Regions from separate parts of the Homo sapiens genome. Here region 1 is linked to region 2. The links are contacts of gene promoters, found by promoter capture Hi-C in blood cells and fetal thymus (Javierre and others, 2016). All regions are on one chromosome and are shown on one strand. The core of a region is centred on a gene start or on the middle of the fragment in contact, and the rest is flanking DNA. Distances in the headings are between cores, read along the strand shown. Region 1 overlaps PHLDB1 (pleckstrin homology like domain family B member 1). Region 2 holds the start of NLRX1 (NLR family member X1).

What was found. Contacts are between HindIII fragments. The CHiCAGO score rates a contact against its expected background, and 5 or more counts as called.
Region 1: a contact is called between a fragment that was not itself captured here and the fragment with the promoter of NLRX1 in region 2, in 1 of 17 cell types (non-activated CD4 T cells). The highest score is 5.0, in non-activated CD4 T cells.

Annotation. Positions count from the first base shown.
Region 1 is chr11:118,613,837-118,618,469 of GRCh38, reverse strand. It overlaps PHLDB1 (pleckstrin homology like domain family B member 1), which reads right to left. Exons shown (of 23, transcript NM_001144758.3): 2 at 4,574-4,633; 3 at 3,788-3,911; 4 at 2,259-2,429. The coding sequence starts at 4,633. Among named protein-coding and RNA genes, the nearest start is that of PHLDB1, 8.5 kb to the right of the region's middle. RefSeq lists enhancers at 1-432, 1,985-2,501, 2,502-3,019. The HindIII fragment of the contact is 5,173 bases long and covers 219-4,633 here.
Region 2 is chr11:119,166,165-119,171,017 of GRCh38, reverse strand. It overlaps NLRX1 (NLR family member X1), which reads right to left and starts at 2,293. Exons shown (of 10, transcript NM_001282144.2): 1 at 1,716-2,293. RefSeq lists enhancers at 793-1,497, 1,498-2,203 and a silencer at 1,775-2,384. The HindIII fragment of the contact is 14,996 bases long and covers 189-4,853 here.

The DNA.
Region 1 (4,633 bases), core at 1,556-4,055, 550 kb after region 2:
ACAGAGATAGCACATGCACCCCCGAGCCACCCAGTTTCCAGGGAAACACACTCCCAAGAATGTCCGGAGTGGGGCCAGGCAGGGCTGGGCTTGGTGCCTTGCTCCAGAGATGAGACAAGGAAACCCTCAGCTCCTGGAGCCCAGGGGAGGGGGAGGACTGGGGAGAAGAACACCCATTCCTTTGTGCCTCTGCCTACCCCTCCACAGGCTGCCAAGCTTCTGAGACAGGCGAGCCCAGACAAGAAGGCTATGGGGGTTGGGGAGGGAAAATGGGAAGGGGTTTAGGGTCAGAAGAGAGTGGGAGGGTACATACTTGGCTGGGTAGGCCTCTGGCTGGAGAAGAGTCGGGAAGGGTCACTGGGGCCACAGGAAATGCTTCAGAATTCCATCTTAGCCCTAGGCTCTCCCCTTCTCAGGGAGCTAAATGATGCATTGGAAAGACTGGACAACAGAAGCATACCCTGCTCACAACATGCAGGGGAACAATGTTCTTACCGATGAATGTGATGGGTTTGGGGCGGGGGTGGTAAGTGCTGGGCCTTCTTTGAACTTTGCCCTGCCTCTCCTTGCTGCTCTATTGTCTCATCTCCATGCTCCCAAATCTTAGAGAAGATGCTCTCTCTGAGACTGAACAGGACTGTTAGGAACCCACTGCCATCATAGCCAAGCCCCAATTTTTGGGGGTTCCTCCTCTCATCCAAAGTCAGAGACCTTGAATCCCTGGAGAAGGCAAGGGCCTACGTACTGCTGCTGGTGGACCTGCCTCCCTGAAGTCAATTGTCCATGCCCTGCCCCCTACCCGAGGGCAGGAAGAAAAGACTGGGGTCAAAAAAAAAAAATTAGCCGGGCGGTGGCAGGTGCCTGTAATCCCAGCTACTTGGGAGGCTGAGGCAGGAGAATCGCTTGAGCCTAGGAGGTGGAGGTTGTAGTGAGCCGAGATCATGCCACTGCACTCCAGCCTGGGCAACAGCGTGAGACTCCGTATCAAAAAAAAAGACGGGGGAAATGTCAGGTCTCCTGGATCAGCTGTGAAGGAAGTGACATTGAAAGGCCTTAAGGAGGATGAAGAGGAGAGAAGGAGACAGTGGAGTGAGTAGGATGGCCACTTCCAAGGGGCTTCTAGGCAGTAAGAGCCCCCAGAAAACAATGCCAGACCATCAGAGCCTGCTCAGAGCCAGGCTTAGCCCAAAGTTCCTGTCCTGCTGTTAGCCTTTAACTTCACCTCTAACCTCCACCCAAATCTGTTTTTCTCATTCTCCTAATCTGACAACTCACTGTATGAACTGATGCCCAGAACCCTGTTTCCAGGGTGAGCACACCTGGTCTGTCAAAGTGCTACCTGGGCCAACCGCTTACCTGCCTGCTAACCATAGTAATTATGGGCCTAGTTTTTATTTATTTTTATTTTTTATTTATTTATTTTTTGAGACGGAGTCTTGCTCTGTTGCCCAGGCTGGAGTGCAATGGTGCCATCTCAGCTCACTACAACCTCTGCCTCCCAGGTTCAAGCGATTCTCCTATCTCAGCTTCCCGAGTAGCTAGGACTACAGGCGTGTGCCACCACGTGTGGCTAATTTTTGTATTTTGGGTAGAGACAGGGTTTCACCATGTTGTCCAGGCTGATCTCGAACTCCTGTCCTCAAGTGATCCACCCACCTCGGCCTACCAAAGTGCTGGGATTGTAGGCGTGAGCCACCATGCCTAGCCAGGGGCCTAGTTTTTAGAGCTACCTTACACAACAGAATGGCCTATTGCTTTGGGTTATATTCGTGACCCAAAAGTTACTGTCAGCAGTCTTGTAACAGGAGCAGGCATGTCCTGAGATTTACCCTTGCCCCATCCCCATCAGGAAGTATTGTCCTCCTCTCCAGCTTCTCAAAACAACTTCCTCTTGGCATCATGGAACAATGCCATTGATACCCTCTCACTGCTGCTCCAATTGCTCTTCCCCAACAACCATTAACAACGCCATCATGCCCCAGGCCCTCTGATGGCGGGAATCAGAACCTCTTCTCTCCCCATAGTATGTGGAGACAGGTTGGGGGTGACCAGAGAAGAAAAGCAGGTTGAAAACATGTCTGGATGCTGAAAGGGTTTGGGATGTTGTTTAGGCACATCCAGATGCACCTGAGTACTCCATTCCCAGTATGGTCACTCAGGCAGTTACCATGGCAACCACCACAGCCAGCCTCCCCTGTGCCTAATACACACAAGCCTTTAAACAGAGGCCCCCTCCATCTGGAGGTGTCCAGCCTTACCCTGAGTGAGCCGGGTAGGCTGCCGGACAGGGAGCCCATCAATAGTGCAGGCATTGCCACAGGGGTAGAGGGTGAGGGTGCCCCGCAGGTTCTCGATGTAGCAGTGCTCTGGAGCCAGGCCTGGGCCCTGTAGTGAGATGTCTCTGGCTGCAGAGCCAATCACCGTCCTCCCTGGAGACAAGAGGCAAACTGAATCAGAGGGGTTGTCCAGGCTGAGGAGGCAGTGACAGGGCAAGGAGGGCCACAGTGGAAACATATTTCCACCTCCTACTCCAGGGAGAATCTCTGCCCACCACTGGCCACCCCTACTAGGCCCCTGAGCCTGGTCTATACAGTAAGTGATGGACGCTGTTCTCAAACAGAGAAAACTCTGCCTGAGAATGGGAGGCCCAGAGATGGGAAGACCCAGACAGCACACAGTAGGACCTAGACTCCACAGATGGAGAAGGAAGACTGCTTTTCTGCAGATCTTCCCTTATTCCCCCAACTGCCTCTCCCTATTGTCCTTTATCCTTTTTCCCCTTCATCCTACTCCTCATTTCTTCTAAATCTCCCTTTCTCTCCTTCTTCTCTCCCCCGCTTCTGCTACCTGCAACACTTCGTCTCCCTTGCTAACCTCTCTCTTCAGTGCAACCTCTCTCTTCAGTGCAGGCTCTCCCCTAACTGCAGCAAGAACAGCCCCTCCCGCTGACAGAGCCCCTGGGACTGGTATTTGGAGAATGTGGAGAATGTAGTATCACCCAGGCAACAAGTGCAGCCAGGAGAGTAGAGAGGGCGGGCAGAAGCTGAAAGGTGAAGGGGGCTGTGCCAGGGCCTCATCTTGGGAGATCTTGCCCTGACTCCCATCTCTCCATTCTCCATCTATGGTATACCCTCCCATGCAAGACAATGCCCTGGAGCGGGGCCCTTTTTCTTCTTGGCCACATTGGTTGCTAAGAGCAATGTGTTCTCCTGTTTCTCTCAGTGCTTTCTTCATGGTTTCTTTTCTTCTTCTTTTTTTTTTTTTTTTTTTTTTTTGAGATAGAGTCTCGCTCTGTTGCCCAGGCTGGAGTGCAGTGGCACGATCTCGGCTCACTGCAACCTCTGTCTCCTGGGTTCAAGCGATTCTTCTGCCTCAGCCTCCTGAGTAGCTGGGACTACAGGCCCGTGCCACCACGCCTGGCTAATTTTTGTATTTGTAGTGGAGATGGGGTTTCACCATATTGGCCAGGCTGGTCTAGAACTCCTGACCTCGTGATCCGCCTGCCTCAGCCTCCCAAAGTGCTGGGATAACAGGCGTGAGCCACCACACCTGGCCTCTCCTCCTTGTTTCTAAGCTGATCTTTAAGCCCAGTCGTGGAACCAGATCATCTACCAAGGAAGGCAGGCAGTCTGGGGAGGCAGAGACAAGGGAAGCAAGCTGGTGGTGTGGGGAGGCGAGCACCAGCAGACAGTAGAAGGGCCCCAACACATGCAGGAGGTGGGCCTCCAGGGCAGGAATGCCTATAAGGATAGAGGGGTGGTGAGTGAGATGCCCTGTTCACACTTACCTTCCTCCAGCGGCAGGAGGGTGATGGCTGTGCTGAGTCGCCCACTGCCCAGGCTCACCAGGTGGGGTTTGTCCGTTTGCACTTTCAGCCCTTTGCCTGTCTCGATCAGGTCCAAGGGTCCTTTCTGTAGGTAGTACGGGTGGAGGACAAGCATCATTAGATTCAGCACCTTACCACCCTAAACCAGTCACACCAGCACTCTCTCCAGCCCTCGCCCCTCTCCGAAGGGCTCTGAGGGTGCTGAAAGGCTTAGCACAAAATCTTACACAGAGCATGATTCCACTAAATTGTAATTAGATCTGAATCTAGGCCACTAACTCATCCCACTGGATTTATCGCAAGTCTTGGCTTAACTGTGCCTTTTGTCTATTAAAACAGAAGCAAGGAGAAAGGGGTGGGGGGTGGGGGTGGCATTGGATAAGCAGCAGGGGTACTGTAGAGGAAGGCCAATCAAGCTCCCTGCAGACTTGTCCATGGCTATCCACGTGGCCATTGCTTGCCCCTGCTAAGCTCAAGTACAGGGAAGATAGAGGCATGGATCAAGGAGAGTGATACAGCCCAGGGTCAATCTGTAAACTGCTTTCGGACTTTCGATGGGTAGTTTCTGGGTGAACCAATTAACCTGATTCAGATAAAGACTGAGCTGTTAATAGGCTTGGGACCTGGGGAAGGGCAGAGAGGAACAGAATTGCTCCTTTCATCCTTGGGCTGGGACCACAAGGGGGTAGAAGAGCTGATCCCATCCCTATTATATCTCTCTTGCCTCACAGCCCTGATCCCACTCACCTGCACCATGGTCTGGGTCTGGCATCCAGGGCCTATTTGGTTCCTATTGAGAGCGTCCAT
Region 2 (4,853 bases), core at 1,044-3,543:
GCGCCCACCACCACACTGGGCTAATTTTTGTATTTTTAGTAGAGACGGGGTTTACCATGTTGGTTAAGCTGGTCTTGAACTTCTGACCTCAGGTAATCTGCCTGCCTTGGCCTTGCAAAGTGCTGGGATTACAAGTGTGAGCCATCACACCTGGCCTTCCTGCCACGTCTTGCCTCTCCCCTGAAGCTTCACGAACACCTTTCCCTGAGTTCCACCCTGGTAAACTGCTTTATTTAGGTGTCCTTTTTCCTTCTTGGCCACCAGCAAGCTCAGATAGGAGTCCTGTGTTCATTTTCAGTGGCTTTTCTGTGCCTAGATTTTCCAGTAATAATTATCCACCCCACTCTGCCTTTCTTCCGCAGATATCAGATCCTTTTAGCTGAGTTTTAATGGCTTCATCATTTTATGTTCTCTGTGACTTTTATGTAAGCAGCCTTTGAGGCTGACATAAATAATAAATAAATGAATGAACTTCTCACTTGACATCTCCAGATGGACAACCTGCCACTGCTTCAAACTTCTCCCATGTAAAACTGAACTCATCATTCCCCTCCTCTTGTCATTTACCTTGCTGCAAATCTTCCCACCCACGCCTTACATTAGAAACCTGACCTCTCTCTTCAAATCTTTCTTCCCTTGCTCCTTTAGGCAGTGTGAAGAGTCCTAGCAATTCCTCCCCACTGCTTTGCCAGCCAGTTGCTGCCCCGACCAGCATTTATTGGACCCGATCTCCTCACCAGCCTTTCTGCCTTCAGTCTCATCCCATTCTAATCCCTCACCCCAAGCACCAAGCACCTCCCGAAAAGTCCAAGGTTACTTATAGAGTCCAAACACTGGGCTCCCACAAGCTATTTTTCTGAGTTTGTCCCAGCCTGTGCCTTATACCCCAGGCTCACCGGATTCTTGCTCTTGCTGTCCTAAATTTGTTCATACACTCTTCCCAGTTTGGAATGACCTTTTTCCTCTGTTAGAGTCCCAACCAATTTTTTTTTTTTTTTTTTTTTTTTTTTTTTTTTTCCTGAGACAGGGTCTCTCGCTCTGTTGCCCAGGCTGGAGTGCAGTAGTACGATCTCAGCTCACAGCAACCTCTACCTCCTGGGCTCAAGCCATCCTCCTGCTTCAGCCTCCTGAGTAGCTAGGACTAAAGTGGTGTGCCACCACACCTGGCTAATTTTTGGCTTTGGTTTTTGTAGAGACGGGGTTTTCACCATTGTTGCCCAGGGTGGTCTCGAACTCCTGGGCTCAAGTGATCCGCCCGCCTTGCCCTCCCAAAGTGCGGGGACTGCAGGCGCGAGCCACCACTCGGGCCCCAACCAATCTTTTAAGATCCTGCTCAAAAGTCTCCGTCCCTGGGAAGTCTTTTCTGAGGCCTCTGAACTCACTTAAATGGAATGTGCCCCTATTTGGCACCTGGTCTCCTCCACTGAGATCGGGGCTTCTTGGGCAGGGTACGCTTAAGGAGAACTGGCTGCATTGGGCCACCTGCCTTAGCAGGGCCAACCAGCGGAGGAGCTGGCTGGGTGCTGGCCCGTCCCAGGGGCTGCGGAAGGGTTAAGAGAGGGCTCCAGAAGCCTGAGAAAGCCTAGGTTCCGGTTTAACCTCGGATCTAGGGCCACTGAGTCAAGACGGGACTTGCGGGGCCGAGGGCAGTTCTCCGGTGATCACCCAGGTCTCCAGGGCAATGAGAAAAGGAGGGGGCACTGCAGGAAACGTACAGGGGCGGTGTTCCTACAGGTCCAGAGCTCCTCCACCAAACTGGGTCCCAAACAGCTCTCCTACTTTCGGGTGGCCTCGGGAACGCAGGGGGAGACTTGCCAGAACGCCCGCCATTCAGCGCCCAGCTCCGTCCCTCTCGTTCTCGGCCGGGATCTCCCCGCGGCCCTTGCACAGCCTCCTCCCCCGGCCCGCCCTGCCCCCCGCTCAGCGCGGCCTCCCAGCCAGGGCGCAGGGGTTATCAAGCCCGCTAGGCCTTTACCCGCGGCTGCCCAGTTCCGGGAGCCGTCGGCCGCGGCCCAGAGGGGTCGGCTGGGCGGACGCCGGCGTCTCCCGCTAGCTCCCAGAGTCCCCGGCTCCTCGGCGTGGCGCTTCCTGCCCACCTCCGCCCGCCTGCGCGGCCCTGGCACCTGGCAGCGGGCGCGAAAGAGGACGAGCCCAGGCACTCGGGCCTGCGGGGTCCTGGGACGAGGGGGTCAGCGAGAGGGGCCCGGTGCTCCGGAGCAGGCGCAGGGCTGGAACCCCGGCGCCACCCGTCCCGCCATCGTCCCCCCTCCCTGCCTCCATCCCCGCGGGCACTGCCGCTAGTACTGCCCTCTGCAGGTTCCCAAGCGCCAGTGACACCCAGTGACCTCACTAACCACCTCCCAGGCTGGGCTGCTTGTTAGGCCCATTTTACAGATGAAGAAACTGATGCTCAGAAGGGTGAAATGACTTGTGCAGGTTGATTCAGTTAGGAAGTGGATGAGCCAGAACAACATCCCGGGCCTGAGTCTTCCTACCTTACCCCTGGGCCTCCCTGAGGCGCGGTGTCCAGGGGATTCTTCCCTCTGTCCCTCTCCGCCTCCCCAGCCTACCTTCAGGCAGAGACCTGAGCCTAAGGCTTCCTTGGGTTCTGCCTTATGTATCCGGTCCTCTTCAGAGCCCAGACCTATGTGTGTGGCTGCTGGTAACCTTGGTTAAGAAAGAAGGAAGAATGGGGGCTGAAGGACAACTTGCACCCCAACCTGCTCTTCGGGTCTGACACCCATTCATGGCCTAGCCCTGGGGCTTCCCAGTTCCCAAAGCCCCCACCCTTATCCCTACACTTCCACACACTTCCACACCCTGGGCTCACGTAGCCCAGAAGGAGGAGCCACCCACCACCCACAGCCAGGGCACGCCTTCGTATGCAAGCATGAGTGTACGATGTTCACACAACAGAGCTGTGCACTAGGGCACCCACAGAGAGGCTCTCCAGGGCAGGGCTGGGAAGAGGACTTACTGAAAACAATGTGGATGTTTCATTTAGACATTTGTTCATTCGTTGTACTGTGGTATTGGGTAGCACTGAGCACCTCACCCCCACAAGCCAGGTCCAGCACTAGGCCCTGGGCTGCCAACCACAGCAAGGCAGGCACCTCACTTTAATGGAATCAACTACCACATTTACAAATGATGTACTTCAAGGCCGAGGCAGGAGGATCACTTGAGACCAGGAGTTTGAGACCAGCCTGGGTGACATAGTGAGACCCTGTCTCTATTTAAAATGAAAATAGAAAATAAAAATATAAAAAACAGACAAACAAATGATGTACTTCAGTGGCAGAGGCAAGGCATTAGGAGAGTCTGGAAAAGGGAGTGCAGAGGAGGTAACATTTGTACTGGATCTGAAAAAATAAATCAGAGGACCAGCCGCGGTGGCTCACACCTGTAATCTCAGCACTTTGGAAGGCTGGGGGTGAGGGCAGATCTCCTGAGGCCAGGAGTTTGGGACCAGCTCAAACTCGTCACCATGGCCAACATGGTGAAACCCCCGTCTCTACTAAAAATAACAAAAATTGGCCAGGCATGGTGGCTCATGCCTGTAATCCTAGCACTTTGGGAGGCCAAGGCAGGCGGATTGCCTGAGCTCAGAAGTTCACGACCAACCTAGGCAACGTGGTGAAACCTCATCTCTACTAAAAATACAAAAATTAGCCGGGCTGGGTGGTGCATGCCTGCAGTCCCAGCTACACAGGAGGCTTAGGCAGGAGAATCGCTTGAATCCAGGAGGCGGAGGTTGCCGTGAGCCAAGATCACGCCACTGCATTCCAGCCTGGGAGACAGAGCAAGACTCTGTATCAAAAAAAAAAAAAAAATCAACCAGACGTGGTGGCATGGGCCTGTAGTACCAGCTACTCAGAAGGCTGAGGCACAAGAATTGCTTGAACTTGGGAGGTAGAGGTTGCAGTGAGCCGAGATCATGCCACTGCACTCTAGCCTGGGAGATAAAGCAAAACCGTGTCTCAAAAATAAAAACAAAAGCACAAAAAATTAGCTGGGCATGGTGGCACATGCCCATAATCACAGCTACTCAGGAGACTGAAGCAGGAGAATTGCTTGAACCTGGGAGGCGGAGGTTGCAGTGAGCCAAGATTGCACCACTGCACTCCAACCTGGGCAACAGAGAGAGACCCTGTCTCAATAAATAAATAAATCAGAGAAAGGAAAGGCAGGGCATCCCAGCAGCAGGGTGAACAACACATTTGCATTTTAAAAGAGGTTCTTCAAGGGGAGTAGAATAGGATGTGGGAGGGGAAGTATAGGAACCCCATGAATGTAGTCTCATGGGTGACAGTTTGGGCCTGGTAATCTCCTCTAGCTTCATTCCACTTACCTAGCCATGCAAGACAGTCACCTGGCAGCAGTTCCTGGACACAGCTCAGAGCAATCTGTTTTCCTCCCCTGTCACCTTCCCCATGGGTACGACAACCATGTAGGTTTTATTAATAACATATACTTTGACTGGCCTCTTGCAGACAGAAGTACTGTGAGTCATGCCGTGGGCATGTCCTCTGTTGTCTGACCTAGGATGCGGTGCAGTGGCTCACCCTATAATCCCAGCACTTTGGGAGGCCGAGGTGGGTGGATCACCTGAGGTCAGTAGTTCGAGACCAGCCTGACCAACGTGGTGAAACCCCGTCTCTACTAGAAATACAAAAAAATTAGCCAGGCTTGGTGGCAGGCACCTGTAGTCCCAGCTACTCAGGAGGCTGAGGCAGGAGAATCGCTTGAACCCAGGAGGCAGAGGTTGCAGTGAGCCGCGATCATGCCACTACACACTCCAGCCTTGGCTACAGAGTGAGACTCTGTCTAAAAAAAAAAAAAAAAGTTATAGC